Regions from separate parts of the Homo sapiens genome. Here regions 1, 2, 3, 5, 6 and 7 are each linked to region 4. Evidence: promoter capture Hi-C in 16 types of primary human blood cells and fetal thymus (Javierre and others, 2016). All regions are on one chromosome and are shown on one strand. The core of a region is centred on a gene start or on the middle of the fragment in contact, and the rest is flanking DNA. Distances in the headings are between cores, read along the strand shown.

Region 1 (3,816 bases), core at 1,185-3,684, 430 kb after region 4:
TTTGTATTTTTAGTAGAGATGGGGTTTCACCATGTAGGCCAAGCCTCCCAAAGTAGTGGGACTATAGTCGTGAGACACCGCGCCCTGCCCACACTACTTCTTAAGTAAAATTTTACCCAGGTTCTGCAAATACCTAAATAGCCTCAGAGTCCTTATTTCTTCATTTTTTGGGAAAAAAAAGAAAGAAAGAAAGCATACTGATTTTAGCAACCTAAATGTACTTCTCATTTAGCATTTTCACTTCCCCTGATGAAAAGCAAGTTAAGCTAGCATGTAATTTTAGAAACTGATCTATTTTTTAAAGTTGTGTTGGAAATAAAGAAAGTGAGGGTTGGGAGAACAGATATTTAATAGCCATTCTGCTATTTTTAAAAAGTAATGCTATGCATTTTAAAATTTCATATCTTTGAATAATGAATCTAGGCTTAAATACTATGTGTCTTGCTTTCAGACATGTGTTGTCTAATACAGTAGCCATATGTGATTCTTGAGTACTAGAAATATAGCTAGTTTGCATTTCTTAAAACAAATTATTTTAATTGAAACAGGGTCTCGCTATGTTGTCCAGGCTGGTCTTGAACTCCTGGCCTCAAGCAATCCTCCTGCCTCAGCCTCCCAAAGTGCTGGAGTTACAGGCATGACCCACCACACCCGGCTAGTTTGCATTAAGATGTACTATAAGTGTAAAACACACAAAAGATTTTGAAAACTTAATTTGAAAAAGAAAAAGAATGTAAAATAGTCCATTAAAAATTTTTATACTGATTAGTATTGAAATAATATTTCAAATATCTTGGGTTAAATAAAATGTGTTTCTAAAATTAATTTTATCTGCTTCTTTTTCATTTTTATGTGGTTACTAGAAATTTTAATGATATATATATATATATATATAAAAAACACATACTATATTTCTTTTGTACAGAGTTGTTCTAGGGAAAATAGTATATTAATATAAAGCGAGGATCTCAATTTAAACGAGATTTTAGAAAATAAGGAGATTTTCAGTAGCAAAATTCACAGGGAGTCCACCAAACCAAAAACAGGACTTAGACAATAGGCAAAATATACCAATGTCTACATGTTTATGGATGCTTTCAGGAACCCTCAAATCATCACTATCATCACCATCATCATCATCATCTCTCCCATCTCCTTAAGGGGAAACAAAGTACTCTGGTCTACACTACAACCAAAAGGTGAAAAATTAAAATCTTTGAGAAAGGCAGCATTTTAATTTCATTCTCACTGTGGCATAAAACCACTAAATAAATGTATAAGAGTAGGCTTTATCAGAGAGGAGAAAATAGGAGGGACTGAAAAACAGAAAAAAGTGAATGAGAAAGAGCATACAAAACACTAAGTTGATTTTTCACCAAACTGATGCTTATGAAAAGAAAAAGAGACCAAGTTGAAAGCAGTCAATGCAAGCTTCTTACTTCTTAGTTTGCCTAACCCCATCATATTATGTAAATATAAATATATGTACGTTTTTGGCTGGGGGTGGTGGCTCATGCCTATAATCCCACCACTTTGGGAGGCTGAGGTGGGTGGATCGCTTGAGGCCAGGAGTTCCAGACCAGCCTGTGCAACATGGCGAAACCCCATTTCTACAAAAAACACAAAAATTCACTGGGTGTGGTGGTGTGCGCCTGTAGTCTCAGCTACTTAGGAGACTGAGGTGGAAGGATCACTTGAACCTAGGAGGTGGAGGTTGCAGTGAGCTGAGATCATGCCACTGCACTCTAACCTGGATGACAGAGGAAGACTCTGTCTCAAAAAATATATTTAGATGTATATAAGTTTTTTGTGGACTAAAAAGACAGTCTGGGCAAGTTTTCCCAGTTATGACAAAGTAAGAAGGACACATTACAAAATGTAGTATTTAAACTTACTGTATTTCTTTGTGTGTGTGTGTGTGTGTGTACACAAAAATAAACAGAGTAAGTGATATTTGTGTTTGTTAAATTATATAACAATACAAATATCACTTACTATGTTTATTTTTTATATAATTTAACAAACACAAATATCACTCACTATGTGCCAGAAACTGTTGGAAGTACTGTACAGGTATTAACTCATTTAATCCTCACAGTATCTCTGTGAGATAGGTTCCAGTCATTTTCTTCATTTGACAAATAGAGAAGAATCTGGACCTAGATAATGTAACTCTAGAGTCTGGGTGTTTCACCACTATAACATACTACCTTTCAAACTTCTAAGTTAAAACCATTTGAGGAAGTGTTTCTCGGTGCTGCTCTCGAGACATTTTGATACAGAATCTTGAGGTAAATCTGTAATCTGCCACTTTTAACAATCTATTTACATACAGTAAAGTTTGAGAATCACCACAAATTCCATTGCTAAATGTGAAGTCTATTCCTGCAAAGGCCCTGCATCTCACTAGCTCGTTGGCCTAAAGCAAACATATAATAACCTCTCAGCATCTCTCCCTCCTCATATATACATTGAAGACCACAGACTTTTTAGTAAAAAAGATAAAACTTGCCTCAAACTGGAAAAACTTGGCTTTTTTTTTTTTTCTGTATGTGGTATTTTAGTATTACTTTTTAAAGACTTCTCAAAGCTCTTTGGTGGGCCGGGCCTGGTGGCTCACACCTGTAATCCTAGCACTTTAGGAGGCCAAGGTGGGTGGATCACGAGATCAGGGGTTCGAGACCAGCCTGACCAACATGGTGAAACCCCGTCTCTACTAAAAATACAAAAATTAGCTGGGCGTGGTGGCAGGCGCCTGTAATCCCAGCTACTCAGGAGGCTGAGGCAGGAGAATTGCTTGACTCCGGGAGGCGGAGGTTGCAGTGAGCCTAGATCGCACCACTGCACTCTAGCCTGGGTGACAGAGCGAGACTCCGTCTCAAAAAAAAAAAAATGCTCTTTGATGAAAGGCAAAACTTTATTTGCTATCTCTACTAATTAGCCTTTATCTGACACTGTCAAGGAATGGAACATGTTACTTGGTATATCTGCCAGCATCAGACATATCACTTATTGTTTTTTATTAGTTGTTCATCCAGGGCATCTCTGGGAGATAGTTCTGAATGGTCCTGATGTAGATTTAATCCCATACAACTGATAAAGACAAAATTCTCTTCTGGCCTTGCCTGTGATATAAACCATTGGTTAGTACGTGGTTATGTCCGCTTTTATAAACATTCCTATCCTTAATAGATAAACTTTCTCCCTTTAAGCCTTCTTGAAGGTGGTATATTCATTTCCTTGCAAGCTCCAACTTTAAAGAGATTAAAAATGTTTGACACTTGCTAAAAATTATTTTGTTCAAAAATTTCTGCTAATTTTGAAAATGTAAATGACCTCTAAATAGTGAAGGGATTTACAAACTGCAAAACCTTACACAAAATTACTTTTTATTATCATTTCACTTTATCCGGGTCTCAGTGTTCCACCTATCAAGGAAAAGCTTAGGTATCTGTGAACTATTATTATATGCTCTTTATTCAAATAAATTATGTGGTTGAGATTAAGTAAATTGTGCAAGCAAGAAGCTAGAGAGATCTCTGTTTATTAGAGGAAGTTTTTCTCTAATCCTGACAATAGGGCACTAATTTACGCACCTCCAAGGAAACAAAGTACCTCTGAATGACTCTCTCTCACACCTTTTAACTCTCCCTATGCCTAAAACCATATACCTGATGTAATGACATACTGCAGAAAGACCAAATAATACAGTAGCTTCTGTAACAATATCAGAGTTCACATCATAGTCTTCTTATAGATGCTACTATTTCTGCCTGCCTCTGGATTCTGAGTCCCTTTAGACGGCTAAAATTAACT
Region 2 (4,361 bases), core at 1,508-4,007, 380 kb after region 4:
AAAGAAGATATACAAACAGCCAACAAACATATGAAACAATGCTCAACATTACTAATTATCAGGGAAATGCAAATTAAAACCACACAATGAGATACCACCTTACTCCTACAATAATGGCCATTATTAAAAAGTCAAAAAAACAACAGATGTTGGCATGGATATGGTAAAAAGGAAATGCTTATACACTGTAAATTAGTACAACCTCTATGAAAAACAGTATGAAGATTCCTTAAAGAACTAAAAATAGATCTACCATTCAATCCAGCAATCCTGCTGCTGGGTATCTACCCCAAAATAAGTCATTATATATGAAAAAGACACTTGCACGTGTATGATTATAATAGCAGAATTCACAATTGCAAAGATATGGGACCAACCTAAGTGCCCATTAACCAATGAGTGGATAAAGAAAATGTGGTATATGTACACCATGGAATACCACTCAGCCATAAAAAGTAATGAAATAATGTCTTTTGCAGCACCTTGGTTAGAGCTGGAGACTATTATTCTAAGTAACTCAGGAATGGAAAACCAAAACTGTATGCTCTGACTTACAAGTGGAAGCTAAGCTGTAAGTAGGCAAATCCATACAGAGTGATATAATGACTCAGAAGCAGGAGGTGAAAAGGGAGGGGGAGGGATAAAAAAAACTACATATTGGGTACAATGTACACTACTCAGGTGAGTGACAGGTGCATTACAATCAGAATTCACAACTATATAATTCATCCATGTAACCAAAAACGTCTTGTACCCCAAAATCTATTGAAATAAAAAATACATAAATAAAAATAAAAATATCTTCCTCTTGCACAGTGCCTTGTAAGAAGTAGGAAATCAAAAATTGTTTGTTTGCATTGGGTTGGATATCAGAGAGCCATATAAAAGAGAAGGTAGTCAAAATTGTGAAGATGAAGTTATGTAAAGCCCATAATTGAATAAAACAGAGATACAGTGTTAAAAATTACAACAGCTAGGATCAGAAAAAAAGGCACTTAGAAGGTGCCTGTAATTATGATTCTCATAAAATAGCAATTAGAACTATTTCCCAAGCTTCAGTTATTCAAGTATATTCCTAATAATTTTTGATAAAAAACCTACATTAACATTTATACTACTTTTCCTTAAAAGCTTATTTTTTTTTCAAAAAATATTTTTGACTATCGACTGTATGGCAAGTACTATTCTCAGACTGTTGGATACATCCATGTACAGCAAAGCTGTCTGTCCTTTTAGAGACTATATTCTACGGAGAAAGGCAGACGATATATAAGAAACAGATAGATAAGAAAGAGGAAGACAATATACAAGAAAGAGAATAAGTATCATGCTGGTGCAAAAGTAATTGCGGTTTTTGCCATTACTTTTATCCTATATACTTTCAATGGCAAAAACCGCAATTTTGCACCAACCTAATAAGTAAATAGTAGAGTATATTAGACTATAATAAATGCTATGGTAAATAAACAGAGGTAAGGGAGATGAAGAATGTAGGGAAAAAGGGTTGGTAACTTTAAATAGTTATGTGAGTAAGCATCATTAAGAAGGTCATGTTTGTGCAGAGATGGAAACGAGGTGAGAGGCCAGGCCCTGCAGCTTTGTCGGGTAAGAATCATTCAGGCCGGGCGCGGTGGCTCACGCCTGTAATCCCAGCACTTTGGGAGGCCGAGGCGGGCGGATCATGAGGTCAGGAGATCCAGAACATCCTGGCTAACACAGTGAAACTCCGTCTCTACTAAAAAATACAAAAAAAAATTAGCCAAGCGTGATGGCGGGCGCCTGTAATCCCAGCTACTCGGGAGGCTGAGGTAGGAGAATGGCGGGAACCCGGGAGGCGGAGCTTGCGGTGAGCAGAGATCGCGCCACTGCACTCCAGCCTAGGCCACAGAGCGAGACTCCGTCTCAAAAAAATAAAAGGATCATTCAGGTAAAGCAGATAAGAATCACCAATACCTTGAGGTGGAAGCACGCCTGACATGGTTGAGAAACAACAGAGAAGCCGGCGTCCTGAGTGCGGTGAGTAAAGATGAAGGAAGTAGGAGATTAGCTCAAAGTTAAGAGGGCCAGAATATGTAGCGTCTTATAGATAATTACAAAGGTATTTCTTTTTTATGTTGCTTTGTTTTTACTCTGAGATACATGAGAAGTTGATGAGAATTTTAAGTGGAGAACCGACATGATTTTATTTAAATTTAATGGTCTCACTCTGATTTGTTTGAAAATAGACTGTAGAGGGTGAGGGTGAAGGCTCAGAGACGACTTCAAAAATTATTGCTATAAGCCAAACAAGTGAACATGGTGGCCCCTGAGCATGTCCTCTGGTGTGACCATTACTCATCTCGAATTTAACTTTCAGACTGAGGTTCGGCTAGCAGCTATTTCACCTTTTCTGTCTCTTGGAAAAGTGTGGATGTTTTCTGTCTCTTGGAAAAGTGTGGATGTTTTCTGTCTCTTGGAAAAGGGTGGATGTTTTCTGTTTATTAACGTATATTTCCATATAAGCTGTGATATAAACGTGTCTCAACAGGTCAGGTACTGTATGTCTTGCACAACGTAGAGCAATCTTACTTTACACCGTCACTTTCGTGATACCCACGTCATGGGTTAGGTTGCCTGGCCTGTCTGTTCACTAGATTAGTACAGCTGGATCTTCAGCATCCAGTTATTTACCTTGATTACCATAATTTCTTGGAGTCATCCACTATATCCTGGGGACCCAGGAGGAATGAATCAAAACAAAACCAAAATTAAAATACTAGATATCTCTTCCAAACTCCATCCTATGCTTTAACTACTTAAAACAGTTAACCATACTCCTCATGTTCTCAGCCTGATCTATCTCTTCCCTTTCTTTTTTTATGTTTATTATACATTACATCATTTATTTATTTATGTATGTATTTTTAATTGTACTTTAAGTTCTGGGATACACGTGCAGAACGTGCAGATTTGTTACATAGGTATATATGTGCCATGGTGGTTTGCTGCACCTATCTATCTCTTCCCTTTCTACATGTTTTTAAGTAATGAAAACAAATTTGCATATTAAACAACAATAGTAAACCTCACAAAGATCTTTATCTTCTCTTAGGTTTTTAAAATTTTTAAGATCGCGAATTAATGCTTTAATATCAAAATATCTACTATAAATATCCACTCCACCCATACCAAATTCATCATCATTTTTGGGGAGAGGGCAAATTGTAATAGTGATTGTGACACACAGGCACATAATTTAGAGGCCATGGGTTTTTTGATAAGAGTTTTTTTTTATTGAAATGAAATCCACATAACATAAAATCATCCATTTTAAACTGCATAATTTAGTAAAATTGGTACAATTTCTTTTCACATATTAATCAACATTAGAGGACTGTAAATGCCTCCCTAGTAATACAGAAATATCCATTGGAAATAAAAATAGCACCAGTGGGAAAGTATGAAAAAAATAAGACAAATCAGCACATGAGGAAATATAGTTTCATTCCAATAATACCATTTTACAGTAATTACTGAAAAAAATGGTAAAAATTGTAAAACAGTACATCACAAAACTAATAAAACATATTCCAAAATGTTAATACTTGTTCCAATGAGGTTGGTTACTTTTTTATATTCATCATCAGATTTTATGTATTTTTATGTATTTTTGTATTTAAAAAGCAGAAAACTTTCCTATGAGAGCAGTTTCCCTACAATTACATATTATACAAGATTCTAGGCTGGGTGCAGTGGCTCACGCCTGTAATCCCAGCACTTGGGAGGCCGAGGCAGGCAGATCACTTGAGGTCAGGAGTTCGGGACTACCCTGACCGACATGGAGAAACCCTGTCTCTACTAAAAAAATACAAAATTAGCCGGGTGTGGTGGTGCCTGACTGTAATCCCAGCTACTTGGGAGGCTGAGGCAGGAGAATTGCTTGAACCCAGGGGGCGGAGGTTGCGGTGAGCCGAGATCGTGCCGTTGCACTCCAGCCTGGGCAACAAGAGCGAAACTCTGTCTCAAAAAAAAAAAAAAAAAAAAAGATTCTATTAGAGATATGGCAGATGTACTCTCTGAGCTATTTAATTGATAAAGAAAAAGTAGGAGTTCCTGCTTTTTACTAAGATGATAATCATAATTATGATCATACTGATGAAAATAATAAAATTGCTCTGACTGTGGTGAAGATTTTTTCCCATTTCTTCATTTAGCTATTCAGAAATATATTTCACCCTCAGTTCATAACTGATATACTGCTAGAAGTTGAGGGTCAAATCGTGGCAACACACCGTGCACTTCAATGGCATTGTTGAGCATGAAACAACTCTGATAGAGCCAGAAATTAAGATTCGCTTATGGCTTACCCAAGGTAAATGCCA
Region 3 (3,768 bases), core at 713-3,212, 410 kb after region 4:
ATCTCTACTAATAAATACAAAAAATTAGCCGGGCGTGGTGGCGGGCACCTGTAGTACTTGGGAGGCTGAGGCAGGAGAATGGCATGAACCCGGGAGGTGGAGCTTGCAGTGAGCCGAGATCGTGCCACTGCACTCCAGCCTGGGCGACAGAGTGAGACTCTGTCTCAAAAAAAAAAAAAAGAAGGAAAAGAGAAGGAGAAAGAACAGAAAGTAATAGAAAGGAAAGAAGGCAGGGGGAAGAGAAGCGGAAAGTAAGAGAGGGGAGGGGACGGGAGGGAAAGGGCAGAGCAGAGCATTAGGTTGCTGGGAGATAATTTCTAGCGCCTAATACGCGTGTATTAAATCCCTTAACAGTGTGTGGGAGTGGGGTAGAGGTTGGAGCAGAAAACATATTTGAAAAAATAATGCTTAACATTTTCAAAGCTAATGAAAAATGTAAAACAATAGATCCAAAAGCTAAAGAACTCTGAATACAAGAAACAAACAAAAAAACTTCACCAAGGCACATCATAATAAAAAATGCATAAACCCTGTGACAAAACGAAAATAAAATATCTAACAAAAGCATAGATAATTATGTACAGAGAAACAAAGAATGATAGAATATTTGTCATAAGAAATAATACAAGTAAGAAGACTGTGGAGTAACATTTTTGAAGTATACAAAAAAATCTGTCAGCCTAGCATTCTACACCCAGTGAAAATATCATTTAAAAGTACAGATGAAATAATAATGTTTTCAGACATCTTAAATCAGAATTAATCACAAACAGAATTTCAGTAGAGAAAACATTTAAAAAATTCTTCAGGAGGCCGGGCACGGTGGCTCACACCTGTAATCCCAGCACTTTGGGAGGCCAAGGCAGGCAGATCACAAGGTCAAGAGATCGAGACCATCCTGGCTAACATGGTGAAACCCTGTCTCTACTAAAAAATACAAAAAATTAGCCAGGCATGGTGGCAGGTGCCTGTAGTCCCAGCTACTTGGGAGGCTGAGGCAGGAGAATGGCATCAACCTGGGAGGCGGAGCTTGCAGTGAGCAGAGATCGGCCACTGCACTCCAGCCTGGGCGACAGAGCGAGACTCCGTCTAAAAAAAAAAAAAAAAAAGGAGGAAAAAGAAATAGGAAATAGATCAAAGGAGACAAATTGAAAACAAATATCAAGATGACAGACTTAAGTATAATTAATCAGAATTTCATTAAATGTAAATGTTTTAAACACCCAAAAGAAATTGTTAAATGATGTAAAATAGCGAGCCCAAATGTTATGTCAGCTAAAAGGAATATACTCGGTTTAAAGACAAAAAAATAGGTTAAAAGTAAAAGGATAAAAAAAGATATATCATGCCAATATTAATCAAAGAAAAGCAGGAGTGGCTGTACTAATTTCAGACTAATAGATTTCAGAACAAACATTACTAACAGGAATAAAAAAGTTTACTTGGTTAGAGGTCAGTTCATCAAGAGAGAATGAAAATCCATAATATTTATGCCTTGATTATCAGAGCTTTAAAATATACAAAGCAAACCTGATAGAACTACAGGAGAAGTAGACAAAATCATAATTATCATCAAAGGTTAGATACTCCTTTTTCAATAATTGATATGATAATAGACAAAAAATATCAGCAAGCATATAACAGACTTCAACCAGACTGGGGATGGTGACTCATGCCTGTAATCCCAGCACTTTGCGAGGCGAGTCAGGTGGATCACCTGAGGTCTGGAGTTCAAGACCAGTCTGGCCAACTTGACGAAACTAAGAATACAAAAATTAGAGGGGCATGGTGGTGTATGCCTGTAATCCCAGCTACTCGGGAGGCTGAGGCAGGAGAATCTCTTGAACCCAGGAGGCGGAGGTTGCAGTGAGCCAAGATCGCGCCACTGCACTCCAGCCTGGGGGACAAAAGCGAAACTCTGTCTCAAAAAACTATATATATATATAGCCGGGCATGGTGGCACATGACTGTAATCCCAGCTTCGCAGGAGGCTGAGAGAGGAGAATCGCTTGAACCCGGGAGGCGGAGGTTGCACCCGCGCCACTGCACTCCAGCCTGGCCGACAGAGACCGAGACACCTTCTCAAAACTAAATAAATAAATAAAGACTTGAATCAAATTATTGTCCGCATTTATTTGATGTACATTTTAACAACATTCCATCCAACGACAACAGATTACATATTCTTTTTAAGTGTACATGGAAAATTTGCCAAGATAGATCATATTTTTGGCCATAAAATGTCTCAATAAATTTAAGGGTTTAAGTCATTAAAAATGTTTCTTCTCACATGGAAACTAATAGTATAATGATTTCTGGAAAATTCCCAAGTATTTGGAAATTAACACATTCTAAATAATCAATGAATCAAAGAGGAAATTTGAAGGGAAATTAGAAAGTGTTTTGAACTGAATAAATGTGAAAAATTACCATACCAGAATCTGTTGTATACCACTAAAGCAATATTTAAAGGAAAGTTTAAAGCACTGCATGACTATATAAAAAAGAAGAAATGCCTCAAATTAATGAACTCAGCTTCCATATTAAGAAACAAGAAAAAGAAGAAATTAAAACCCAACTAAGTAGAAAAAAGAAACAATAGCAATCAAAGTAGAAATTAATGAAATAGGAAACAAAAATATATAGACAAAGTCAATGAAACAAAGAGCTTTTTTAGACAGCAATTTCAACTTTTATTCTAGATTCAGTGGGTACATATGCAGGTTTGTTACATGGGTAAATTTCATGATGCTGAGGTTTGTAGTGCAGATCATTCTGTCACCTAGGAAGAGAGCATAGTACCCAATAGGTAGTTTTTCAGCTGACATTTCCCTTCCTCCCTCCCTCCCCCTTCTAGTAGTTCCCAGTATCTATTGTTCTCATTATTACGTCCATGCGTACTCAATGCTTAGCTCCCACTTGTAAGTGAGTACATGCAGTATTTGGTTCACTGTTCCTATGTTAATTCACTTAGGATAATGGCCACCAGCTGCCTCCATGTTGTTGCAAACAACATGATTTCATTCTTTTTTATGGCTGTGTAGTATTCCATGGTGTATATGTACCACATTTTCCTTATACAATCCACTGTCAATGGACACCTAGGTTGATTCCATGTCTTTGCTATTGTGAATAGTGCTGTGATGAGCATACGAGTGCACGTGCTTTTTGGTAGAGTGATTTATTTTCCTTCAGATATATATCCAGAAATGAGATTTTCAGATTGAATCATAGTTCTGTTTTAAGTTCTTTCAGAAATCTCCAAACTGCTTTTTATAGTGGCTGAACTAATTTACATTCCCACCAACAGGGTATAAGCATTCTCTTTTCTCTGCAGCCTTGCCACCATCTGTTGTTTTATGACTAATAATAGCCATTCTGACTGGTGAGAGATGGTGTCTCATTGTGGTTTTAATTTGCATTTCTCTAATGATTAGTGATGATGATCATTTTTTCATATGTTTGTAGGCCGCTTGTATGTCCTCTTCTGTGAAGTGTCTGTTCATGTCCTTTGCCTCTTTTTAATGGGGTTATTTGTTTATTGCTTGCTGATTTGTTTAAGCTGCTGCTGCTGCTTCTTTTTTTTTTTTTTTTTTTTTTTGAGATGGGGTTTCGCTTTTGTTGCCCAGGCTGGAGTGCAATGGTGCAATCTCAGCTCACTGCAGTCTCTACCTCCCAGGTTCAAGTGATTCTCCTGCCTCAGCCTCCTGAGTAGCTGGGACTACAGGTGCGTGCTACCACACCTGGCTAACTTTTGTATTTTTAGTA
Region 4 (4,048 bases), core at 118-2,617:
AACTAGATCACATTAAAAGATGTTGCCCCACATCCCTAAACTGGGAAAAGAATAAGGTTTTATTTATAAAAGTTCAAACCATAGACAGAAAGGCAATTAAACCCTGGAATGCGGAATCAAAAATATTGGTTTTGTTGCTTAAACTGAGTAAAATAACCTCTAGAAAAAGAAACTAACTACAGGACATTTTTGAAGCATAGGGGAATGACAGTGCAGTTCTAGTCCATGTTATTTTTCAAATTATGTTTCACTATTTCATAGGAAGTGAAAGTGCCTAAGCTGGAAGAAAAGAAAGCAAGTTAGCCTCTGCTGGGTAAAATAGAGAGGTAAGGTTTAAAATAAGAAACAAGATGCTTTTACAACCAGAAAAGGACACACACTAGATTCCTTTGATAACTATAAACTTTTGAAAATATAAAGAAGAAATACATTCCTTGGAAATACGAACAAAGTAGCAGATTCATTCCACAAGGGCAAATACAAAGGAGGAACTTTAAATTATTTAAAACACCTACATAAACTCTATGCTACAAAAATTCTTACCCTAGAGCAGAGAATGGAAATGTAACAAGACAGAGAAATTTCCTTAATACTTCAAAGAATAGAAAAGACACTGGCTATGAAAATCTATAATTTTTGAGGGGGTTTGGTGATGAAGGCACCATGTTAAGTTTAGGCATATGCTTATCGCCTCTGATTCCAGAAATATTCAATTACCTAGTCATTAATTCTAGACTTTATAAAATTAAATCTAACGTTTCATGTTTTCTTAAGTTTACATTTTTATCCTATTGATATTGTAAAAGAATAAATAACAATATGAGTAAATTGCCACAGGTATTTTTCCCAGTGGAGATGAATTTATCACATTATGTTAAAAGGTCAGATTTGATTGAGAGTGAGCAAAGCTGTGGAGCAGAAAGGCGTGATCCCGCTAGAAGTTGCTGTGTGAATATAAACATTCATCACGAGAAATCAAGAAATAGAAAGGCTATGAAAACAGAAGCAAAGTTCTACATATTAAAACCAAAGTGGCAATTTATTTTATGAACAGACATTTTGCTTCATTAAAAACATTCGCTCTTATTCTTAGCATTCAATGAATTTTGCTTTGAATCCAATCTCCTCTTTTCAGTTTGGCAATTAGATACATAAGAAAGAAATAAAGGAGATAACTAGTAAAATCTTAATTCTCAAAGGCACCCTAAATCCAGCTTACCAGATCTCTGAAGTGGAAACGCGAGTTCTAACGGGGAAGTCCGAACAGTTTTGATGTCAGCGTAGACTACATCTCCAGCCATTGCACAGATCAAAAAGAGAGAGAAGACCACAAATGATGTCCCACTGAAGGGACAATCATATTTCTGCAAAGAAACTTCTGATAAGTAAATTGAGATGGCAAATTTCCTTCTGCTCCCCAAGTGGGTGGTGGACTTCCTCCATGAATAAATGACAAAACCAATGTGTTCAGTCTTACTAATCAAGGTAGCAGATTTCTCGAATACTTGTATGACATGGAAGAAATTACTAACCATACAGTAGGTTCTCGTTTTTCAGTTAGTTTTCTGCCTAAACTTGAAATGCTTTTAACTTTTATTAATACCACAGAAGATATCTCACCATTTTCTCCTATAGACCACTTCCTCTTTTAGTTCAGGCATATATTCTCTGGCGGAAACTCTGAATTTCCAGCATCTTCTCCAAAGTAGGATAGCTATTTGGGAAACAGAACAAGAAAAAGAAGGGATTTTATTACGAAAGTTACAGAAAGGGGCCCTATGTCTTTTATCCTCCTCTCTAAATGCATTGTATTGTCTAGATAATACCTTAAAAATTCTGAAAGCTATTTGCTTTCCTGTATGCTTTATAATATTAACATTAAACTGAGGTAAAACATGAATTATGCAGAGGACTTCTGAACTAAAAAATATATATTTAAGAAACAGAAATAACTCTGTTAAAATAATTCAAGGTAATGACATAAAAGAAAAAAATCTAATTTTAAAATGAGGTGTTCAGAAATTTACTATCGAATACAACATAGCAAACATAGATTTTATCTCCTATTTCTTCTAAAATTCCACTAAAATTGAATTAAGTGAATAAAAATTTGTTAGTCTAAAACAATAACACAAAGGCTCAGGGTCCTATTAGTTGATGAAAAATTTCAACTAATTCCTGGAAAATGGAGAGTAGATGGAGATGTGATCATTGATGAAGAAGTAAAATCAGAGAAAAATGCAGCCAACACCATACAGAGGGAAATAATGGAGGAGAGCCTAGCTACCTGTGAAACCGTCATAGGACATAGAAATGTCAGATATGAAAAATGGCAGGATCCATTAGCTTATGACTAGTAGATTAACTGGAAATCTGCATATGGAAAAACTGGTTTTTTCAATACCCACTCAAGTGCATTCTGCAGAATTAATCTAAACTGCAGTCACCCCATCCCTACCCCTCATCCAAGAAATTTAACTTAGGTTAATTAAATAACTAGAGAACAGATCCTGGCTTTGTGGCATTTAGGGATCCCTCCTATAAAGACCAACTTCTGACCCTGGATGAGGCTTGAGCACCGACCTCTGTCTCTTAAGACTGCATGACACTCTCTCCCTTTTCTGGGCTGTTCCAACTGTTTGTATGTGACTAGACAATACCTACTACATACATGAAAAACTGACTTTTAGAGGTTTTATTATCTGCAGGTGGTTGCATAACCAATAATTTTTTTTTTTTTGAGACGGAGTCTCACTCTGTCACCCAGGCTGGAGTGCAGTGGCGCGATCTCGGCTCACTGCAAGCTCTGCCTCCCGGGTTCATGCCATTCTCCTGCCTCAGCCTCCCGAGTAGCTGGGACTACAGGCGCCCGCCACCACGCCCGGCTAATATTTTGTATTTTTAGTAGAGACGAGTTTCACGGTGGTCTCGATCTCCTGACCTCGTGATCTGCCCGCCTCAGCCTCCCAAAGGCATAACCAGTACATTTTAAGAGTGATAACTGAGTTCTAAGTCCATGCCATAATTCAACTATGCTGTCTAGATTTTGAGGGTAAGACTCACATTTTATTATTTTTATTTTCATCACTTAGTTTTGTGTGAAACATAACAGCCGCTCAGTAATTATGTGTTGAATTACCAAATCAGTTATGCTATGCTGAATGTTATAATTAGGCTATAACAGTTTTCCAGAATGAGAATAATCATTTTTCACTAAAAAGTAGACTTTTATTCATATGAAAAATATGACTGATGGGCCGGGTGCCCTGGCTCATGCCTGTAATCCCAGCACTTTGGGAGGCCGAGACGGGCGGATCATGAAGTCAGGAGCTCGAGACCAGCCTGGCCAACATAGTGAAATCCCATATCTGCTAAAAATATAAAAAATTAGTCGGGCGTGGTGGCGTACGCCTGTAATCCCAGCTACCTGGGAGGCTGAGGCAGAAGAATGGGTTGAACTTAGGAGGCAGAGGTTGCAGTGAGCTGAGGTCGCGCCATTGCACTCCAGCCCTGGAGACAGTGCAAGACTCCGTCTCAAAAAAGAAAAATATGACTGATGATCTAGTCATATAAAAGTAAAAAAATTACTAGCATGTAGAGTATTAAAAGAGTGTTAAAAAATTAGGGTAAGTATGTCAATTTCTGCCATGAAAAAGGCAGCTGGGATTCAGCAGATCAATTTTGGGAATAGTGCAAACTGAGTAATATTCATTTTTTCAATCCATAAATACAGAATCTCTCCTTTATTTAGATATTCCTTAATCTATTTCAGAAATGGTTTGCATTGTTCACAGAATAACTCTTACACTTCTGTTATTAAACTTATTCTTTATTTTATTATTTTTGATGTTATTGTAAACAAAGATTTTTCTAAATTTCATTTTTGGATTGTTCATTGCTAGTCTGTAAAAGCACTATTACTATTTTATATTGATTTTTATCCTGTAATCTTGCTGAACTTGTTTATTACCTCTAATTTTTATTGCTGTTGTGAATGTTTTAGGATGACATGATATGCAAGATCATGTTATCTGCAAATAAAGACAGT
Region 5 (3,971 bases), core at 108-2,607, 350 kb after region 4:
TTAGTAAATAAGGACATTATGACCATTGAGGTCATTAGTTATGTAGGAAAGAATCACTTAGAGAAGTAAAACTGTGCCTATTAATATTTTCTCCTGCATAGCCATGCAATCAGGATGTCTGTTTCAGGTGGGAAGTGGTGTGTGTATAGTAGATGAGGAGACTTTGCCCTCCTTCAGAGTTCCTAAAAAAGAAATAAAAAGTGGAAACCTGAACATGTATGCCATTTCCTAAGTAAGCATGATAAAGAGAGCAGAAGAGAGAGCTGACCTGAATAAAGTGGATTATCACAAAACCTGAAAAGAATAGGAGAATAGGAATACACATGCACTCACACTGAAGCGATGCTCCTAGACTTCTCCAGCAGTAATTTTATCAACGGTGGTTCACCTACCATTGGCACTGTCATCATCTGTGGTCCTTATTAAACTGCATATTTTTGATACCCAGCCAAGTTATCCTGAATTAAAATAACTTGAATTTGATTCAGGTTATCTGCATTTTCAGACTAGTCCCTGTATGTTGTTTAAGATTTGAGAACTATAGTTATGAGTTTGCTTACTTCTTACTAGGAAAGAATTTGTAAGAACATTTGCCGAGGTAAATTGAGACATACCCCTGTATTTTCTTTACTCGTAGTCTTATTTTGGTTATTCTTAGTTAATTGTTTTTATTGTTTTAAAATGTCTGCATTTGAAGAGTCCCTTGATGCATGGTATCACAGACACATATGAATCACATGATCCCAACAACTGATCATGATCTTGAAGCCCAAACCCTTTTTCAGTTTGCCAGACCTCTAGTTAAATAATACTTGACTCTCACTTTCACCGGCGGGAAATCCATCTCTCTGTTTCCAGACAACATGGGGACAGAGTGACCAGGACACACTTACCTCCAGCTTTGTTATACAGCTCACGACAGAGTTTTTCAGCCACATGCTGCAGACTTCCTGCAAGCTTTATATTCTGGACTTGAAGAGATTGCAACTCTTGGGACGTATTTCCTAATCTTTCTTCCATTTGAGAAATGGTGTCTTGACCAGTATTGGAGAGCTGGTAGTACTGAAAAACTAACCCAAATGACCAAGTCAGACTGGACAGCTTATTTCTATGTTTTATTTCCATTTTCTGCTTATGGGGAAGACAAAACAGTATATTTTTTAGTATCTCAGGCTCTGAGTTCTCATATTGCCTATATTCAAGTTTGGACTCTAGTACATATATGAGAAGTTGTATCACCTTGGGCAAATTAATTTCTTTAAGTCTGTCTAAAAATGTGAAGTCATGAGGAGAAAATGACGGCTAAGAGGGCTAAGATAGAGCTCCCATTTGGACAACAGAACAGGGTGAGGAGACTCACACTGTGAACTTTTCCTCCAGGAACCACCTCAGGAACATACCAGGAAAATTGAAAGAATGCACAGATCCTTTGAAAGAAGCAACTCAATACTGAAAATTCTGGAAGACAGCCAAAAATGTGTGAAGTGGGGAAAACCCACCTCTGAACACACATCCCTAATGGGGAACCTGAAAATCTGGGTTACATGAGAAGGATTTAACCTCACCTGGAGCAGAAATGGATGTAGGGAGCCAAATATAAAATAGATGCAAAATATAAAAGTAGAAGAAGCAGAGGAAAGAGTCCTGTAGGCACTCCCATTCTCCAGCTCAAGCCCAGGGAAGCCATCCCTGACTTTGTCTCACAGGGGTCCTTGGACAAGGCAGCCAGTGGAATTAAAGAGGAGACACAGGATGAAAGAAGCTTCCAAATGAATTTTGTAATAATTTCAACTGGATATGAATTTTCTTAAGCAGAATCCAGGGGGCAAAGAGGAACTGCTACAGATATCAGCACAGGAACTGTGACAGATGGTGTGGGAAGGTGGGGAGCGGCGTGGCCTGAAAGCCTGCTTGCTTTCTCAGTGGGAAGGGTTGTAGCCTGAGGCAAGTTCAGAGCCCCAGGCATGAGCTGCCAGGATATAAACTTCGTGGTGTTGGTGGGGCATGGGGGGAGCAAGACTTGCATCACCAGCTATGTGGGAGCTGGGTAAGGCCTATCACTGCCAGCTTTCTCCCACTTCCCTGGTGACCTGTATGACACAGCAGAGGCAGCCATAAAATCCTGAGAACCAACCCCCATCCCCCACAGGATTCATGACAAGCCCCGTCCAAGGAGAGTGGGAGCTCAGACCTGCCTAACCCTGATCCCATGTGATGTTTTTTCTCTATGCACCCTGGTACCCAAACACAAAAGACATAAACTTGGGAGCTGTATGGCCCCACCCATCACCTGAGAAACCTGAATACTCATCCTGGCAAACTTAGAACAAGCTTACATCCCGTGTCTACTACTGCAGCTGGTGCTCTCTTTAAAGCACCACCTCCTGGCTGGAGGCCAACAACTCAAACCATTAGAGTAACTCAAGACAGAATAACCCTGCTCCAAGGAGGGAGAAGACAACAGCTAATTCCACTGCCTGCAACATCCTGGCTAACCAGAGGTCCTGAGTGCATCCATCTGACAACTTCACTGCTAGCATAACCAGCATTCAAGGAAGCCAGCACACTAAACAGCACACTAAACATATCTACAACCAAGGACTCTCACACAGTCTGCTTCACCTCCTTGCCAACTTCACCAGAGCAGGTGCTGGTATCCACAGATGGGAGACCAGAAGATGGATCATATCACAGGACTCTGCAGACATTCCCCAGCACCAGCCTGGAGCCTGGTAGCACCACTGGGTGGCTAGACCCAGAAGAGAATAACAATCACTGCAGTCTGGCTCTAAGGAAGCCCTAGACCTAGGGGAAGGGGGAGAGCACAACATCAAGGGATCACCCCATGGGATGAAAGAATCTGAACAGCAGCCTGTGTGTTCCAGATCTTTTCACTGAAATACCCAATAGACCCAAATGACAAGGAAACAGAAAAATAATTCTGGTAATATGACAAAACAGGATTCTATAGCACCACCAAAAGGTAACACTAGCTCCCCAGCAATGGATTCAAACCAAGAAGAAATCTTTGAATTGCCAGATAAAGAATTCAGAAGGTTGATTATTAAGTTACTCAAGGAGATACCAGAGAAAAGTGAAAACCAACTTAAGAAACTTATTTATGGTTTTCTTTCTTTCTTTTTGAGACAGAATCTCACTCTGTTGCCCAGGCTGGAACGCAGTAGTGTGATCTTGGCTCACTGCAACCTGGATCTACCTCCCAGGTTCAAGTGATTCTCCTGCCTCAGCCTCTCAAGTGGCTGGGATTACAGGTGCCCACCACCATGTCTCTCTAATTTTTATATTTTTTGTAGAGATGGGGTTTCACCATGTTGGCCAGGCTGGTCTTAAACTCCTGACCTCAGGAGATCTGCCCTCCTCAGCCTCCCAAAGTGCTGGGGTTACAGGCATGAGCCACCATGTCCGGCCTAAACAAATTTTAAAAAACAATATAGGATATGGATTTAAAAAATTATCCAGAGAAATAAATATCGTAAAGAAAAAACAATCACAACTTCTGGAAATGAAAGACACACTTAGAGAAATAGAAAATGCAGTAGAAGGTTTCAACAATAGACTAGAACAAGGAGAAGAGAGAATTTCAGAGCTTGAAGACAAGGCTTTTGAATTACCCCAATCTGACAAAGACAAAGATAATAGAAAAAAAAAAATGAACAAAGTCTCCAAGTAAGTTGGAGTTATAGTAAATGGCCAAACCTAAGAATAATTGTTTCTGAGGAAGAAGAGAAATCTAGAAGTTTGGAAAACTTATTTGAGGGGATAAACCAGGAAAACACCCATGGTCTTCCTAGAGATCTAGACATCCAAACACTAGAAGCTCAGGATGTAAGGGCAATCTGGCTGCGATATCTGTCACCCCACTGATTGCCAGTGTTGATTCAGCGGATCTGGCTGGCTAGGTGTGTGTCCCCTTCCTCCCTCACTGTTCCATGTGCATCCCTCCTGAAGCT
Region 6 (4,033 bases), core at 1,534-4,033, 370 kb before region 4:
AAGAATATATATTCTGTTGATTTGGGGTGGAGAGTTCTGTAGATGTCTATTAGATCCACTTGGTGCAGAGTTGAGTTCAAGTCCTGGATATCCTTGTTAACCTTCTGTCTCATTGATCTGTCTAATATGGACAGTGGGGTGTTGAAGTCTCCCATTATTACTGTGTGGGAGTCTAGGTCTCTTTCTAGGTCTCTAAGGACTTGCTTCATGAATCCGAGTGCTCCTGTATTGGGTGCATATATGTTTAGGACAATTAGCTCTTCTTGTTGAATTGATCCCTTTACCATTATGTAATGGCCTTCTTTGTCTCTTTAGATCTTCACTGGTTTAACGTCTGCTGTATCAAAGACTAGGATTGCAACCCCTGCTTTTTTTTTCTCTCCATTTGCTTGGCAGATCTTCCTCCATCCATTTATTTTGAGCCTATGTGTGTCCTGCACTTGAGATGGGTCTCCTGAATATAGCACACTAATGGGTCTTGACTCCTTATCCAATTTGCCAGTCTGTGTCTTTTATTAGGGGCATTTAGCCCATTTACGTTTAACATTAATATACTTGTGTGTGAATTTGATCCCGTCATTACAATGTTAGCTGGTTATTTTGCCCATTAATTGATGCTGTTTCTTCATAGCATCGATGGTCTTTACAATTTGGCATGTTTTTGAAGTGGTTGATACAGGTTGTCCCTTTCCATGTTTAGTGCTTCCTTCAGGAGCTCTTGTAAGGCAGGCCTCATGGTGACAAAATCTCTCAGCATTTGCTTGTCTATAAAGGATTTTATTTCTCCTTCACTTATGAAGCTTAGTTTGGCTGGATATGAAATTTTGGATTGAAAATTCTTTTCTTTAAGAATGTTGAATATTGGCCCCTACTCTCTTCTGGCCTGTAGAGTTTCTGCTGAGAGATCTGCTGTTAGTCTGATGGGCTCCCCTTTGTGGGTAACCCAACCTTTCTCTCTGGCTGCCCTTACCATTTTTTCCTTTATTTGAACCCTGGTGAGTCTGACAATTATGTGTCTTGGGGTTGCTCTTCTCGAGGAGTATCTTTGTGGTGGTCTCTGTATTTCCTTAATTTGAATGTTGGCCTGCCTTGCTAGGTTGGGGAAATTCTCCTGGATAATATCCTGAAGAGTGTTTTCTAGCTTGGTTCCACTCTCCTTGTCACTTTCAGGTACACCAGTCAATTGTAGATTTGGTCTTTTCACATAGTCCCATATTTTTTGGAGGCTTTGTTCATTTCTCTCTTTTCGCCCCCGGGTTCTGCCCAGGGTGGCCTGATGGAAAGCCCCGACATTAGAATGGGAACCATCCCTTAAAACCTGTCTTTTCCAAAAGCCAGTTTGAATTTACATCTTTAAAATCTCCAAAATATTTATTTTACAAGGCAGGAGCTGTGCCCCAAAGCTTGTGGCAATTGGGGACCTAAGGTTCCTTGAAATCACCTGAGTGTGGAAGTGGTGATAAGGTGCTAAAGAGATGATCTGAACTCACCAGGCTGATGTGGATAGAATGGGAGGCCCCAGTTCTGTCCCTCCATCCCTGAGGCCCCTCCCCAACCTCCCTGGACCCCCTGTCCACAGAGGCCGTGCTGTGTGCCAGCCTCACTCCTGCATTCTGGAGATGCCGTTCCAAGATGGAGGTTCCCTCACACCTTCCCCCACCCAGCAAACTCCATTGGACAGATCCACACCAGCAACAGCTTCACAGCTAGGCCCTGGAGGTATGGAGCTCACAGACCTCCCACTAACTAAGAAAAACACGGTAGAGAGCCAGAAGGGTGGCAGGTTCCAACAGAGCCCCCACCATGTCCCCCACCCAGCCCCCCATCCGACCCCTTCCCTCCACCTGGACTCAGCACCATCCTGAGTCCCTGCGTGAGAGGCACGTTGAGTTCTATGGAAGAATAACAAAAGTGAGAACAACTGGTACAGTTGCCATGAGGCCCTGGATGCCCAGGGGACTGGAGGCTTTGACGGCCTCTGACTCGGCCCCTCTCGGGGGATCCTGAAGACTATGGGGATGTTTGCCTCTCCACACACACACAGCATCCCATTCCCTGGCTGCCACTCCACACAGATTACCTTCCTGCACCAGAGGTTTCAATATTTCTTGAAAAGGTTGGCAATTTTGAAATTTTTTTCATACATTTATTCCTTACGATCCACTCCTCTGCTTTCTTACAATTGAGCATTTTGAGAATAATTTAACCTTTTCATCATGACTTGGGGTCCTGATGATGAACACCATTATTGTGTTGAGATGTCATTTCCCCCAGAGTGCAGGGACCATGTCTCAGTCCTCTGTGTGCTCCTCGGCACCTCGGCCAGCCCATGGCGATGCTGTGTGTGTCTGCGGGGTTGCACTGACAGAAGCCAACAGAGGCTCTGGCATAAAGGCTGACAGCCTGCTGCTCTGGGCGGTTCTGCTTTGTGAATATGTGTTCCTTAGTGTCTTTCCTTAGTATCCTCTCTTGCTATCAGTCTATCAGCTCACCAAATCTTGAGGCCCCTCTTTTTATTTTCACTTTTTAAAAATTGAGATATCATTCACCTAACATAAAAATCACCCTTTTAAAGTGGTTTTCATATATATTCACAAAATTGTGCGTCCATCACTACTATCTAATTCTAAACATTTTCATCACCTCCACAAAGAAACCTCATACGCATGGTCAGTCTCCACACTTCTTTCCCCTAGCCCCCAGCAACCACAAACCTACCTTCTGTCTCTCTGGATTTGCCTGTTCTGCACTTTTGCATAGAATGGAATCCTGTGCCATGTGGTCCCTTTATGCACGATATCCAACCCAGAGAAAGGCCTTGCTTCCTAAGCCCTCCTGAGACTCACCAGCCACGAGCCCGCATCTATAGCAAGTTCTTTTGAAGGCCCTCTTTACTGCTGGACATTCTTCCTTTGTGCAACAAGTCAATAAACCCATTTTGGTTCAGCTACAGGTGAGTTCTTGGTGGTTTTTTAGCTTAGGAGGATTGGCAGAAATAGAGGTTCCCTGAGTCAGCTGAAGCCCTCCCCCTTGGACAAGAACCCCCGCCTCAGTTAGGGTGGACACAGCTGAGACATACAGGGTGTCTCCCTCTGTCTGAGGTGCCGGGTGGCCCACAGCTGGAAGGCAGCTCGGGCTGAATGGAGGCTGATATTTCCTTGAGGCCCCATGGAGGCTGATATTTCCTTGAGGCCCCTCCGCTTCAGGTGTGCTCTGTTCTGGGAATGAGGTGCTGTGCGACTTTTCCTGGTGATCTGATCAGATTTGCCCCGCTCCACGGTGAAACTGCTGTCTAGCCTTCTGAGAAATGCTCCTATGTCTATCTGGTGGTCGAATGTTCTAAGCGTTGTCTCTAAGTGGAAAATTCAGTAGTTGATAGGGGCCCGGGAAGTCTGTCCTCAAGCTGGTCTTGGAGGTCACAGTGCTCAGGAGTTCCCCTCAGACTAGCATTCATTGGAATGAGCTTTGCCCCAGGTCACTGTTTTCATACCTAAGGGTGGATTTTCCCCTCAACTTTGTCTCTGTGTGGTTCCTGAGAACTGCTCACTTTAAAGTTCCCTCTGCCTGGAATCAGGAGGATTGGGGACAATCAGCCTGTGGCCTCTGACCAAGCTCTGGAGGCACGAAGTCTCTTCTCGGACTGCTCGGGTGCCCGTGCGACCTTCTTCATCGGACGTGGCTCTTCCCCAGGCCAAACGCCTGCTGCTTTCAGATTTCCTCACTGTCGTGTGAACTCATCTTATGCCTCTGACACAATTTCTTGAGACACCATTTGAAACTGCAGTGGCCGCTCTGGGGAATTTTCACATGAATGAGGTTGTTCGTTTGAGAGGTTCTGTACAGCAAACATGGAAGGAGCCCCGTGAAGAGCTTCTCTTGTGGGACAGAGACATCGATGTGTTTAATGCAGGAGACACAGTCCCTTCCTCATTTGTTTCCATACTTCAGGGATTAATAAGTGCTGGGGTTTTGTTGTACAGATTGATAAAACTGTCGAAGGCCAAGCTGTTGTCCAAAACAGGATAATTTCACT
Region 7 (4,171 bases), core at 1,344-3,843, 310 kb after region 4:
ACAGGAGATATCCAGTTAAATTAATTAGCTTTTCTTTCCACTCCAACAAAATAAGAGAATTTCCTAAAATCTCAGCTCTATTACAAAAAGATTAATTGAAGACATATATGTATATCCTGAATTTGTATTACTCTAGGCTGGTGCCAGTTTAAAGATTTATAACTAAAAGTATTCATGCAATTTTTTTGAGAAAATAGAAAGGTATAGTTGAATTTCAAGTAGAATTTATCTGTCAGGTTCTGTAGGGAAGTATATAATGTTGATATATTCTAAAGAAAAGATTAGGAGGAGTAAGAGTAAGGTTACTAGTGGCTTAAGCTTTTAGAAATAAGCAGTCAAATGTGACTGTCACACAATAGCTCCTGTGGAATGCCATTCTGAGTCTTTCATATCTGTCAAGAACCTCAAGTCACTTCCTATTTGCCAACAATGCATTCTCACTTGTTATTTTGGGAGGTGTGAGAGTATATAAACATTTGTCCTCCATTTAATTTTCCTACTCATATATTGATTGATTTACCTATTCCTTCATTAATTCAACAAATATGTGCTGAAACTATTCCAGGACTTGGACCTATGCAGTTAATAAAACAGAAAAAATAATCCTTAAGCTCAAGGAGCATAGATTTTAATTGAAGCAACAGCCAAGAAGCCAAACAAATAACATACTATACAGTATAGTAGGTAGTGATTATTGCTAACTAGAGAAAAGTAAACCAGGAAAGGTAGATGTATGTTATTAATAAATCCCTTTGAGAAAGACATTATGTACTCCTTTACTCAACTAAAACAAATTAATACTTCTATAGGGAACATTTTATAGGCAAGCTAAGCAATAAAACCAAACCATGTAGAGTTTTAAATCTAAGGAATATAAAGCTCACCAATAATGTATTTCTTTGTGTTTTCTTTCTCTGTTCACATTTATTCCTTTGAGTCATGTTTGGTAGTCTGAAAGTATAATCCTCAATTGATTGAAGATATAAATATATGTTATAAACACATAGGAACATTAGAATTTCAGCTATTTTGTGTACAATTTTACCTGCATCCTACAAGCTTTTTTAAGTTCTAAGACAAGTGAAATTGGCACAGATTCAAATATCAAATGAAATACATTAATATAGACATGTAATCCAACTTTTTTTTTTGTCCAGGGTCTTATCATAAAGCTTTGTCTTTATGTCATTATCAACAGCTGTGGAGGGATTCTGACCATTGTGTTTATTTATGTTTACAATAGGAATACATCAAAGCCAGGACTGGTTTAATTCATTGGGTCAGATTATCCCACCAGAACTCTAATGAGGTCTGTAAGTGGGAGATGGCTCAGTTCTCTAAAAAAATATGTAAGTCCCCGACACTCAGAATAGAAAGTAATACTAGAAACTTATTCTTGAGATCCGCTCTCATCTCAGTCCAAGTCACTTAATAATTGAAATGTGTCTCTATAACCTACTATGGGTTATATAATCAGCAGCTGAGTCACTTACTCCCTACTTCAAACAAGAGAGCACTGGTCATAAGACAATTCTACCTTCCCCTCTCCCATTCTTAAACTCTTTATCTAAGCCACAACCCATTTTTATACCTGATATTATTCCCATTCATTTCTATATTAATCTTTACCATGGAACAGTGTGTGTGTGTGTGTGTGTGTGTGTGTCTTTAAATTGCTCTGATTCTCTGCATATATATGTATATATATATATATATATAGACAGAGAGAGAGATGGAGTCTCGCTCTATCACCAGGCTGGAGTGCAGTGGTGCGATCTTGGCTCAATGCAACCTCCACCTCCTGGGTTCAAGTGAGTCTCATGCCTCAGCCTCCTGAGCAGCTGGGATTACAGGCACGCGCCACCACACCAGCTAATTTTTGTATTTTTAGTAGAGATCGGGTTTCAGCATCTTGGCCAGAATGGTCTCCCTCTCCTGACCTCATGATCCGCCTGCCTCAGCCTCCCAAAGTGCTGGCATTACAGGCATAAGCCACCGCGCCTGGCCCTCTCCATATATTTTTTAAACAAAATTTCATCCTTATTTTGTTACAGTTGAAAGTTGTAAACTTGAGAGTCTTTTGACTTTTCGGTGGCATTTTGCCTACTCTTCTATCCTTCAAGTCTCCAAGAATTAGATACATTGGGGTTCACAAGATAATTCCAATGTCCATTAGTGAAGCTCTATCCTTCTACACATGATGCAGGCAAATAGGCTGTTAGCACCAGGTTGTGAACTTTTGTCACTTCCTATGTGGTTTTCCAATGTCCAGTCTCAACATCTTTTGTCCATCCTATATATCAAAACTGCAGTCTCTCTCCAATTAAAATGTAAATGGATAACCAAATCTTGTACAATATGATCATTACTTGCACCATTAATTATTTAATAAATATTTAGGAAGTATTTACTATAGGTAGGATCTCAGGATACTACAGCTACAACTCTTCACAGACCATGGGCTTTATCTCCTATTACTTGCTGCCTCATTCACAATATTGCAGACAAATTAGTGGGGTTTTTTTTATTCTTCCAACAAATCAAACTCGTTTTTTTATCTCAAGACTTTTGCATTTGCTATTTTCTTCTCCTAGAATGCTCTGCCTCCACAACTCCATGACTGTTTCCTTCTTGTGAATCAAGTCTCTATTTAAACATCACTTCTTCAATGAGGCTAAGTCTAATTACCCAAACTAAATTAGCTTCCCTTCAGCCCACATCCACACAGTCTACCACTGTTTTGTTTCTTTGTAACTTTACCACTGTCAGAAATTTTCTTGTCTATTTGTGGGCTTCTTACTGGCATCACCCCACTGAAATGGAAGTTCCCCAACAGGAAAGCCCTTGGCTTTCTTGCCTTTCTGTACCAGTCTATCCTCAGCCCATAGAACAACTTTGTCACATAGTTATGTAGATATATGCCAAATAAACTAATAAATATATATTCCTTGTCCTCTCGTGATAAACGGTCTAGAAGAGAATAAAGATAAGTTAACAGCCATTACAATACAGCATGCTGTCTTAGATCATCTATCCTGTAACATAAATCCTCAGCTCAAAAATATTGAATCAACTCACTTTTCCATGAACCTATTCCCATCCATTGCAGATACTTGTCCTGTCCATCTCCTGTCTCCTGTCCCATCCATTGCAGCTCTTTGTCCTGTTCATCTAAATCCTGCCCTTCCATCAATACCAACTAAAGTCTGATCTTGTAGATAAAGCCTTTTCCCATTATTTCAGAGCTATCTCAATCTCTTCTTTGGGGCTCCTATTGTACTAGTGTTCCCTTGCTCCTTAATCTTATGCTACATGAAACTGCTACTGAGCTTTTCAGATATACATACCTTGTACTACCAAGCAGGTTGGGAGCTACTCAACAATGAGAAACTTTTTTTTTTACTGTTTTCCCCAGAGTCTCCATTTTGTGCATCAAAATACTATACACAGAGTTTGATTGTTGATTGTTTCCTTAGTTTTTGAAGGAATTTATTCTACCTTTCCCATTCACAGGTTTGGGCTTTCTGAAGATGGAAAAGGAAATATGAATTGTGCCTATTTTCATAATCAGAAAAGGCACTCTACCTTCTGTGAGAACAAACATTATTTAATGTGTGAGAGGAAAGCTGGCATGGCCAAGGTGGACCAGCTACCTTAATGCAAGGAAAGGGGCAGGATATCACAGATAAGGGCTTTATTGCCCAATAAAAGTTCTGAATGAAGAAATCAATAGCCATAAATTGGTTATTTCTTCCTTTCTTCCTTTGATGTCATTTTTAGTATTATCTTTACTACCAGAATCACTTACCTACTCCCTTCTTTGAATATCCAGAACCCAACATGTAAATTGATCACTTGCTTCTCAATCATTCTACTTTCCCTTAATTTTCTTTCTTCTTGTCTAATTTCTAATTACCTGAATATAATATGATTTACTGCATCTTCATATATACACATATAAGATTAAAATCAGGACAATATAGATTAGTGCTTAATTAAGTTGGGCAAAATATCGAAGCTTAAAATGTGTGCAGAATATCTAAGTTTGAAAGATAGCGTGACGTAACAAAAAGAATACTAAACTTGGAATTGGTAGAATAATTTAGATAATGTCACTTAAAGTACAATCATGAACAAGTCACATAGATTTTTTAACTTCCATTTTCTCATA

Evidence for each region. Contacts are between HindIII fragments. The CHiCAGO score rates a contact against its expected background, and 5 or more counts as called.
Region 1: a fragment that was not itself captured here is called in contact with the fragment with the promoter of CLECL1 in region 4 in 2 of 17 cell types (monocytes and neutrophils); the score reaches 6.5 in monocytes.
Region 2: a contact is called between a fragment that was not itself captured here and the fragment with the promoter of CLECL1 in region 4, in 1 of 17 cell types (monocytes). The highest score is 5.7, in monocytes.
Region 3: a fragment that was not itself captured here is called in contact with the fragment with the promoter of CLECL1 in region 4 in 11 of 17 cell types (monocytes, neutrophils, megakaryocytes and 8 more); the score reaches 11.9 in monocytes.
Region 5: a contact is called between a fragment that was not itself captured here and the fragment with the promoter of CLECL1 in region 4, in 1 of 17 cell types (monocytes). The highest score is 9.4, in monocytes.
Region 6: a contact is called between a fragment that was not itself captured here and the fragment with the promoter of CLECL1 in region 4, in 1 of 17 cell types (total B cells). The highest score is 5.9, in total B cells.
Region 7: a fragment that was not itself captured here is called in contact with the fragment with the promoter of CLECL1 in region 4 in 1 of 17 cell types (monocytes); the score reaches 6.4 in monocytes.

Annotation. Positions count from the first base shown.
Region 1 is chr12:10,161,051-10,164,866 of GRCh38, forward strand. All of the region lies in intron 3 of OLR1 (oxidized low density lipoprotein receptor 1), which reads right to left. Among named protein-coding and RNA genes, the nearest start is that of OLR1, 9.2 kb to the right of the region's middle. The HindIII fragment of the contact is 2,011 bases long and covers 1,430-3,440 here.
Region 2 is chr12:10,113,528-10,117,888 of GRCh38, forward strand. CLEC7A (C-type lectin domain containing 7A) reads right to left here. Exons shown (of 6, transcript NM_197947.3): 6 at 3,250-4,361. LOC105369655 (a long non-coding RNA gene) reads left to right here and starts at 1,836. Exons shown (of 4, transcript XR_007063208.1): 1 at 1,836-2,016. The HindIII fragment of the contact is 3,256 bases long and covers 1,130-4,361 here.
Region 3 is chr12:10,144,879-10,148,646 of GRCh38, forward strand. No RefSeq gene overlaps it. Among named protein-coding and RNA genes, the nearest start is that of CLEC7A, 17 kb to the left of the region's middle. The HindIII fragment of the contact is 6,553 bases long and covers 1-3,768 here.
Region 4 is chr12:9,731,730-9,735,777 of GRCh38, forward strand. CLECL1 (C-type lectin like 1) reads right to left here and starts at 1,368. Exons shown (of 2, transcript NM_001441815.1): 1 at 1,220-1,368. The coding sequence starts at 1,301. The HindIII fragment of the contact is 6,540 bases long and covers 1-4,048 here.
Region 5 is chr12:10,080,344-10,084,314 of GRCh38, forward strand. CLEC1A (C-type lectin domain family 1 member A) reads right to left here. Exons shown (of 6, transcript NM_016511.4): 3 at 894-1,070. It also overlaps the pseudogene RN7SKP161. Among named protein-coding and RNA genes, the nearest start is that of CLEC1A, 17 kb to the right of the region's middle. The HindIII fragment of the contact is 805 bases long and covers 956-1,760 here.
Region 6 is chr12:9,358,454-9,362,486 of GRCh38, forward strand. No RefSeq gene overlaps it. Among named protein-coding and RNA genes, the nearest start is that of LINC02367, 7.0 kb to the right of the region's middle. RefSeq lists an enhancer at 3,635-3,884. The HindIII fragment of the contact is 2,764 bases long and covers 1,402-4,033 here.
Region 7 is chr12:10,041,972-10,046,142 of GRCh38, forward strand. All of the region lies in intron 2 of CLEC9A (C-type lectin domain containing 9A), which reads left to right. It also overlaps the pseudogene LOC100421202. Among named protein-coding and RNA genes, the nearest start is that of CLEC9A, 13 kb to the left of the region's middle. The HindIII fragment of the contact is 2,846 bases long and covers 1,171-4,016 here.